Regions from separate parts of the Homo sapiens genome. Here region 2 is linked to region 1. Evidence: promoter capture Hi-C in 16 types of primary human blood cells and fetal thymus (Javierre and others, 2016). All regions are on one chromosome and are shown on one strand. The core of a region is centred on a gene start or on the middle of the fragment in contact, and the rest is flanking DNA. Distances in the headings are between cores, read along the strand shown. Region 1 holds the start of TPP2 (tripeptidyl peptidase 2). Region 2 holds the start of CLYBL (citramalyl-CoA lyase).

What was found. Contacts are between HindIII fragments. The CHiCAGO score rates a contact against its expected background, and 5 or more counts as called.
Region 2: the fragment with the promoter of CLYBL here is called in contact with the fragment with the promoter of TPP2 in region 1 in 2 of 17 cell types (M0 macrophages and fetal thymus); the score reaches 8.6 in M0 macrophages.

Annotation. Positions count from the first base shown.
Region 1 is chr13:102,594,073-102,598,689 of GRCh38, forward strand. TPP2 (tripeptidyl peptidase 2) reads left to right here and starts at 2,914. Exons shown (of 30, transcript NM_001330588.2): 1 at 2,914-3,131. The coding sequence starts at 2,967. It overlaps LOC107984588 (a long non-coding RNA gene), which reads right to left and starts at 2,870. Exons shown (of 2, transcript XR_001749984.3): 1 at 2,376-2,870; 2 at 1-329. RefSeq lists enhancers at 2,348-2,507, 2,558-2,617 and silencers at 2,688-2,977, 3,138-3,427. The HindIII fragment of the contact is 7,622 bases long and covers 1-4,617 here.
Region 2 is chr13:99,604,334-99,608,824 of GRCh38, forward strand. CLYBL (citramalyl-CoA lyase) reads left to right here and starts at 2,357. Exons shown (of 9, transcript NM_206808.5): 1 at 2,357-2,424. The coding sequence starts at 2,363. LOC105370332 (a long non-coding RNA gene) reads right to left here and starts at 1,516. Exons shown (of 3, transcript XR_931674.3): 1 at 1,429-1,516. RefSeq lists enhancers at 1,220-2,199, 2,122-2,416 and a silencer at 2,138-2,697. The HindIII fragment of the contact is 13,725 bases long and covers 1-2,847 here.

The sequences.
Region 1 (4,617 bases), core at 1,664-4,163:
ATATAGAATGGAAATAAAGTTTCCAGAAGAAATAGTGATATAAAATGTCTGCTTTTAAGTGTTCAGATATTTTATAAATAGTTGATGGTAGCTATCAGAGTTACACTCAACTGGGTATATTTACATGAGAAACGTGAAAGTTTCATTAAATAATGACGATATTTATACTATGCCAGAAATTACATCCTTTATAATTTTTAAAATTTATGATAGGCCGGGCGCAGTGATTCACGCTTGTAATGCCAGCACTTTGGGGGGCCGAGGCGGGTGGATCACCTGAGGTCGGGAGTTCGAGACCAGTCTGACATCAACATGGAGAAACCCCGTATCTATTTAAAAAAATACAAACATTAGCTGGGTGTGGTGGCACATGCCTGTAATCCCAGCTACTTGGGAGGCTGAGGCAGGAGAATCACTTGAACCCCGGGAGGTGGAGGTTGCAGTGAGCCGAGATCCCGCCATTGCACTCCAGCCTGGGCAAGAAGAGCAAAACTCCATCTCAAAAAAAAAAAAAAAAATTGTGACAAATTTAGACTTCATTTTACAGCTGTACAAAGGGATACATAACTTTTTTAAAAACATGTTTATGGGATATGTAAGCAAAAAAAGAAAAATCTGGCCGGGTGCAGTGGCTGATGCCTGTAATCTGAGCACCTTGGGAGGCCGAGGTGGGTGGATCCCCTAAGGTCAGGAGTTCAAGACCAGCCTGGCCAACATGGCGAAACCCCGTCTCTACTAAAAATACAAAAACTAGCCAGGTGTGGTGGCATGCACCTGTAATCCCAGCTACTCGGGAGGCTGAGGCAGGAGAACTGCTTGAACCCGGGAGGCGGAGGTTACAGTTACCCGAGATTGTGACATTGCACTCCAGCCTGGGCCACAGAGTGAGACTCTGTGTCAAAAAAGAAAAAGAAAAGGAAAGGAAAAGAAAAATCTAAAGAACATTGTTACGGCAGTCTAATAAAAAGTCTGCCACCTAGGTTTCATAATAAACTGTTCATTCCCCATTTATTCATTGGGTGATACTCTGGCAAAGTCATGCACATGGTGTGGTAGAACATACTGGGGAGAGATTGTGAGAAGACAAATCCCGTGTTTTCATCAACCTGTTTTGTAATCCATGACAGTCAGTTAACTTTGTTTCTTCATCTATAAAATGAAGTGATTGGACTATGGTTCACTTGAAACTGGGAGCCATTCTGTTCTATCACTATAAGCTCTATACTGAATGTCTTCTGCGAGTTTGTTATTCTGTTTTCGTCTGTGTTAATTTGAAATTCTTTTCTAGAGGTAATGTAAACAGTTGGGAATAAGAAGAAAAACATTCAACTTTTCTTTTTCCTCTGCACTAAAGAGAACATGCTTGTGTAAGACTTATGGACTGAATAAATGATCAAGGAATCAGCTGAAACCATTGCACAGCCATAAGAATAATTTTTGAGACTTAATGGAGGATCTCTGAAATTCTGTGGGTTGGAAACCGCATGCATAAGGCTTTCCTTTATACCAGGTATTCTTAACTTGGTGTCCATAGACAGAATCCAAGGGGTTCAAAAACTTCCGTAGAAAAAAGATACAAACCTCTTAATTTTTTTCACATCAAGTATGAATGTAGGCAAAAACCAGGGTAGTTATGCTGTTATGTCACCAATAAAAATCAGTTCATCGTAGTGCAGTTTTCACCGCTATCTCCAAATAATTATATTCTTCACTATTTTGAAGTTATGGTAGTTTATTAGCCTTGGCCCTAGCTCCTGTTATTTAATGCAAAAGAAGTACACCTGTAACTATACACACACACGTAAAGCTCCTGCTATATAACAAAATTGCCTTTAGTATTTTTGATAACTGCATTTAAACATAATTTATTTCCTGGGTAATCCTATCTATTTCATTGTATGCATTTTAAAACACTGCTTGAGAAATAGGCCTCACCAGATTGCCAAAGGGGTCTTCGGCACAATAAAAGGCTAAGATTACCCTGGCATGAGCATAGACATAAAGATCATTAGAGGACCACTATGCAGCTTGCAGCAACTGACGGCAGGCACTGTGAATCTGGAAAACTGAAAATTATGGCTCTATAATTGAGTGGACAGCCGTAAGGAGCAATCAGAAACTTCAGTGTAAGAGGAAAAAAAAAGATGTTTTTCAGAAATCCCGGAAGCTAAGGATCAGCAGAGGATAGGAGGGGCCCATTTCAGTCTCGTGCTTTGTTACTGGCTACAAAGGCGACGGAATGACCAACAACCCACTTCCTGTTGACTGAAACTATTGCCTGTCTCCACCCTATTGCTCCCCCTCACCACCTCACCCCCATCAAAGGGGCATAACAACACAGGGGAACCCAAAGTCTACACCCCTTAACCTACGACCTTCCAAAATCATGTCCGGAGCTTTCGCCGACACCGCAGACTCCTTAGCGGCTAAGCGTGAGTGCGCCGGCTCCCTTGCCTCGGGTCAGCAGCACCCCGGGGCTGGGGCTCCTGCAGCAGCCGCACCAAAAAGTTTCATCCACAACCTTAAGTTTGGAAACTATCGTTTGCCAAGCGAAGGGTTCCCATTATTCCTGGCTGGCGGTCCATCTCCTTGCCCGTCTCTCGGGGAGTGATTCGGTCCGGGACACCAGGACTCTGCTTGGAGGCCTGCTGTTGCCTAAAAACCCCAAGCGCGGGCCTCTTCAAGGCCCCAGGTTCGAGATCCGAACCCTCCAGTAATGTCCTCAGACTCCTCCCCCTTCACTGCAGCCCGGGCAATACTCGGGCCTAGCTCCTGAGAGCGGCGCCGTTGGCTTACGTAGCAGCACGTGATTGGCCACCGCTCCCTGGCAGGCCGGGATTGGTGGAAGACGGGCCGACCCCGCCCCTCGCCCCCGCCTCCGGCCCGAGGCCGCACGGGTGTCCTCGCGCTGCTAGTCCGCGCGCAGCCTGGCAGTTTGCCGCTTCCTCGTCCTCCATCCTGCGTCCATGGCCACCGCTGCGACTGAGGAGCCCTTCCCTTTTCACGGTCTCCTGCCGAAGAAGGAGACCGGAGCCGCCTCCTTCCTCTGCCGCTACCCGGAGTATGATGGGCGGGGGGTGCTCATCGCAGTCCTGGACACGGGGGTCGACCCGGGGGCTCCGGGCATGCAGGTGAGGCGGCCCCCGAGGGCCCGGGCGCGGGGGCGCGGGCGGCCGGGGACGCGGGTGGGGACACAGTCTCGGAGCCCGGCAGGCCAAAGCCCCGCTCTGCGGCCGAGTCCGGGCCGGGGTGGGCAGCACCGGGGTGGGCAGAGGTCAGAGCCAGGCGCGGGAGGGACGGGCGCCCGCCAAGGGGACTCAACGGCGCACAGTGCCAGGGTCGCTGGGCGGGCGAGGGCCCGGACCCCAGGTTGGGCCGTGGTCCCCCCAGCTCAACAAAAGCAGCGTGCCCGGCGCGGCTGCCTGGGGAAGCCTGGGTCCCCCTTTGGCCCCAGGGACTCCCCTTCCTTCTCGCTTCGGCGCTGCCAGGCCGGACCCCCCAGGCTCCTTCCCTCCACGCCGCCTTCCTCTGCCTACCCCTCGTGCCTCGGACACCGGTCCCAGCCTGACGTTTTTAAAGAGAATTTTACAGCTTTTATCATTGGGGTGGGGTGGAGACACCAGATAGGCAACTGACATGTGAGAACTTAATGTTTAGGGATCGGGAGATTTGGTTTGGGGAAGAATAGTTTGTCTTTAAGCACGAAAGCTGGGTTTCCAGAAGATAACCCAGTCCTCTTCCGGAATTGTTTCCTGTGGTAGTTTTGTGTATTCTATTTTTAAACGGTCTTCTGCAGCGTGTTTGCTTAGGGTCATTGAATCTTGTGGCTTAGTCTTCGTTTACATAAGGAGAATTCAGTTAGGTTTGGTTTTGGCGAGCTTCTCAGACCTTATGAAAATATGCGACTTTTTTTTTTTTAAACCTGAAAACATACGACGGTTTTTAAAAATTACTTAGTTTTTTGCCTTAGGCAACTTTAAAATCTGTAGATTCAAGGTATCATACCAGAAGGTAGTTTTTTTGAAAGTATGTTGTCTCTCGTTAAAAGCATTCTGTTTAAAGTCTTTAAAGTTTAACTTTTGTACTTTTAACCCTTTACTGAAATCCAGTAATAAAATTTCACCGTTATTCAAGATCCATCTCCCAGCATCCCTGACTAATCCTACTGTATGCTGATCTCTCGTTGATCAGCCCCTGGCTATCTTATCCTCCTTTCTACACTAAACACTCATCCTCCTCCCCACAATGTCCCTTCCCTTCTGGATCCTTTATCGTGCTTTCTGATTATTGAGGTAGCATTTTGGAAGTAACGAGGGGGAGTCTGGCCGAATCTGCTTAGAAACCCCTGGGAATCTTGATTCCTGGTGTGTGTTCTTCAGCACCACTCTGGAGTACAGCACATCTTTTGTGAATCAGAAGAGGATCAGGTACTGAATTCCCTCCCGGTAACTGGAGTTATATAGTTGTCGTTGTATTAATAACTTAAAGACTTAGAACAATGACAGCTATCAACTCATTTGGGGCTTTATTACAAAGTAATAATGCTTTTCATTCAGCTGTGGAGTGTGTTTACTTTTTATAGGATGAGTGGGAGGAAAACAGCTGGGATAAGTGGTT
Region 2 (4,491 bases), core at 1,107-3,606, 3.0 Mb before region 1:
AGGCACTGTGACAGTGAAATAGATGTGGGGGCGCCGTTGGGGATCTTTAGGTTATTAGCACAGGCCCCTGTGAGGAGGTGGCACGTAGGCTGAAGGTCCTGGAGGATGAGCAGGTGTAGCCATGAGCATTCTGGGGATGAGGAACGGCATGTGTGAAGGCCCCACGGTGGGAGAGAGCCTCGTGGACTTAGAAAACACAGACAGAAGATGAGTGGGGCTGGAGATAAATTGGAGAGGCTGGCAGGGGCCAGACCGTGTGAGGCTTTAAGGGTCATGGGGAAGAACTCGGATTTTATTCTAAAGCCACTAAAGGGTTTTAAGAAGGGAAGCGATGCAATGACAATAATAATGAGGAATAGTTAACACTACTGAGAACTTGCTTAGATTTTAAGTGTGCAGTCTCTCTCTATGTATATGTAAACTCAGTCTATCATTATAACAAGCCTATGAGGTGATGAGGTATTTATACCCCCATTTTATAGATGAGGAAACAGAGAGCTTAAGAAACTTGACCAAAGTCACACAGCAAGTCAACTCTGGAACTAGGAGCTGCGTCATGCTTTTAAAAGGTCAGCCAGGTTTTATGGCAAACGGGTGATTGTAGGAGGGAAGAATGGGAGCAAGGAGGCTTTGAAATAATCCAGGTAAAGGATGATGATGTCCAGAATCAGACTTGAGTGAGGTGAGTGCAGCCCCAGCCTGGGATGCAAAATTTAAGGAGAAGTCTCAGTAATTACTGCACTCCAGCCTGGGCGACAGAGCGAGACTCCATCTCAGAAAAAAAAAAAAAAAAAAAGATAAGTAATATTGGCCTGGCATGGTGGCTCATGCCTGTAAGCCCAGCACTTTGGGAGGCTGACGCGGATGGATCACTTGAGGCCACGAGTTCGAGACCAGCCTAGCCAACATGGTGAAACCCTATCTCTACTAAAAATACAAAACAATTAGTTGGAAGTGGTGGCACTTGCCTGTAGTCCCAGCTACTCAGGAGGCTGAGGGGTGAGAATCACTCAAGCCTAGGAGGTGGAGGTTACAGTGTGTGAGCTGAGATCGTGCCACTGCACTACAGCCTGGGCGACAGAGCAAGACTGTCTCAAAAAAAAAAAAAAAGTAATATTCTAAACTAAAAACCAAGATAATGGAAAAATCCCATTATGAACAAAATATCAAAATTTTAATTAAAGACAGGATTGGTGTTACTGAAATTGCCTTTGCCTCAGGCTTCAGTATGGCTGGACCGGGCACTGGCTGGGACTAAGGTGGTGACAAGAAAGTGACCAAATTGGAGTAGACAGGCGAGGCCTGAGGTGGAGCAGGCGTGGGAGCTGGGGGAGGGCACCAAGGGGTTGAGCAGTCTCCCCTGTTGGTATCGAATATAACAATAATTCTTAGGCTCAGCAGAAGTTTAGCATCCATGTTCCCAGTCACCTGGACTTTTCCAAATCTTGGAACCCCCTCTGGCTGAAAAGGCTTTTGTTTGTTTAAACGGCCACTTTTTGCATCCAAGAGCACAAGTCAGCTTCCACTGGAAGGTTCTGAGAAACGGTTTCAGGTTTAAGTCTAGAGCATGAATGGAACGGAGTCACAGCTGAAAAAGAAACATGCCGAGTGCCAAGGAAAAGACATGGTTAAGGGGTAACATGGGCCCGGGTAGGTGAAGGTCGGCAGGTGGAGGCCGGCTGGATCAGGGAAGGTGAAAGAAGAGGCAGGGGCAGGGCCCAGCCTGTTTTAACGCCTCGGCGTTCTCACCGCTGCAGAACGGCTGCAGGGGGCAGAGTAAAGAGCTGCTGTCAGTTTCCCTGCCCAGAGAGTGCCAACAGCTGCTCTGACCTATTGCAGGCATGTGTGTTCCAGGATGCAGCCTTCCTGCACTTTGACCACTCTAGATTAATTGCTAACCAAGATATGCACATGATGGGGCTCACAAAGTATTAGGCGGTATTTTAACAACAAAAGCTGCGAAGAAATCCCTAGAAATGTTGGCTCTTCTGGCTGGGAAAACGCAGTCTGTCAACAGTTGCCTCAAAAACTCAGAAGCTCAGAGAGTTGGATTCGGTCACCAGAGAGGCCCCTCAAAGAGGCCCCAACCATTCAGATCCTCTGCTCTGTCCCCCATGACAGCGGGGACGAAGGTCCTAAGCCCTGGCCGGGAGGGCAGTTGACCTCGGGACTCGCCGCGGGGCGGAGCGGGTGCTGGGAGGAAGGAGGGCGTGGCTGGCGGGGTGTGGCTGGCGGGACGGGGCGGGGCGAAGACAGAGCGAGGCGGGGCCTGGGACGGGGGGGGGGTCGGTGTCGCCGTGGGGGCGTGGAATGTGGGGTGGGCGTGGCTAAAGGCAAAGGGCGGGGCGCGCGCGTCGGGAAGATGGCGCTACGTCTGCTGCGGAGGGCGGCGCGCGGAGCTGCGGCGGCGGCGCTGCTGAGGCTGTGAGTGCAGGTCCCCGTTCCCCGCCTTCCCGGCCCGGCTCGCCGCGGGTCGGCTCCTGTTGCAGCCCCGCGGGCCGGGCGCGGCCTCCCCAAGCCCTCACGGGAACCCAGCCGGACGGAAGCACCATGCGCCTCCCACGCGCTGGCTCGACCTCGTCCAAGGTCGCTGCCGCCCGCGCCTCCCTTTGGGAGGGCCCTCGTTGCACCCGGAAAATGGGTACACACCTTAGGTCGAATTACCTGGACTCAGCCCCAGGAAACAAAACTGCCTGCCTCCCCCAAATGGCAAACGTGAACGCGCCAGTCTTTGAGAGGCGGCTTGCCTGGTGAAGAACACCTGCGGTTCGTTTAACACAGCGGTTCCCAAACGGTTTGGTCTCAGGACCCGTTTACACGTCTAAAAATAATTTGAGGACCCCCCAAAGCTTTTGCTTATATCTATTGATTTTTGTGCATGAGGAATTAAACCAGAAATTTAAAAAATATTCACTTAATAACAAACCCATTAACTTTTAATACAAATAACACTTTAATGCATAACTTCTCAAAAAAAAAGTGAGAAGATTGGCTCATGGTTTTTATATTTTTGAAAATTTCTTTGGTTTAATAAAGGACAGCTGGAGTCTCATATCAGCTGTTTTGAAGGAAATATTTGAAAGAAATTCTGGGCTCATGCAGATGCAGATATTAGTTGGGAAAGGGAGGACCAAGCAGACCCTCTCAACGGGTCTCAGGGACCCCCTCAGGTGTCTTTGGACCACACTTTGAGAACCGCTGGTCTAGCACTTGCCCATCGCCTAGGTACGTGCACATACATGGTCTCATTTGGTTCCCTTGACCACCATGTGAAGAAGTTGGGTGTCATGTTTATAAAGATGAAAAAACAGGGTCAGAAAGGTTAAGGATTCTCAAAGCCCTATGACCAGTAATGAGAGAGTTTGGTTCAAACACTAAGTGTATGGCTCCTGGTCTGGAACTTCTTTATTTATTTATTTTTATTTTTTGAGACAGAGTCTCGGTCTGTCACCTAGGCTGTAGTACAGTGGTGTAATCTCGGCTTACTGCAACCTCCACCTCCTGGGTTCAAGCGATTCTCATGCCTCAGCCTCCTGAGTGGCTGGCATTACAGGTGTGCACCACCACCCCTGGCTAATTTTTGTATTTTTAGTAGAGACAGAGTTTCGCCATGTTGGCCAGGCTGTTCTCGAACTCCTGACCTCAAGGGGGTCCACCCGGATCAGCCTCCCAAAGTGCTGGGATTACAGGCGTGAGCCACCATGGCCGGCCTGGTGGTCTGGAACTTCTTTTTTTTTTTTTTTTTTTTTTTTTCCGAGATGGAGTTTCGCTTTTGTCGCCCAGGCTGGAGTGCAATGGCGCCATCTCAGCTGACTGCAACCTCCGCCTCCCGGATTCAAGTGATTCTCCTGCCGCAGCCTCCGGAGTAGTTGGGATTACAGGGCGTCCGCCACCATGCCCGGCTAATTTTTGTATTTTTAATAGAGACGAGGTTTCACCATGTTGGCCAGGCTGGTCTGGAGCTCCTGACCTCGGGTGATCCACCTGCCTCGGCCTCCCAAAGTGTTGGGATTAAAGGCGTGAGCCACCGTGCCCGGCCTGGGTCTGAACTTCTTACGTCTTCTTGCACTGTGACTCTTCAGTCACCCATGTCCTATGGGAGGACCCACCTAGTCTTATGCATCCCACTTTCCCATTTCCTCCGCTGCCCCTGGCACAGGGGAGTCACCCCTCGCCCTAGAGGAGCAGCTCAGGCAGTGTATCCAGGCTGGTCCAGAAGGGTCCTTTTCTGGCGCCTTTTGAGGGGGCCAGCGTCTGTGACCTGTTCAGTAGCGGGTCCAGTGAGCGCACACAGTCCCCACGCCAGTACGCTGGGGGTTAACTCAGTGCTCCTCACCCGCCTTAGCACACTGGTCTGTTCTCGACATGTCTACCCGCTGAATATAGGATTCTTGATTGGCATTTTTTTTCCTTTGAGCATTTTAAAGCGTATTATCGCACTGTCTTTTTGCCTCCATTATTCTAATGAGAATTCAGACGTTAATGTTATTA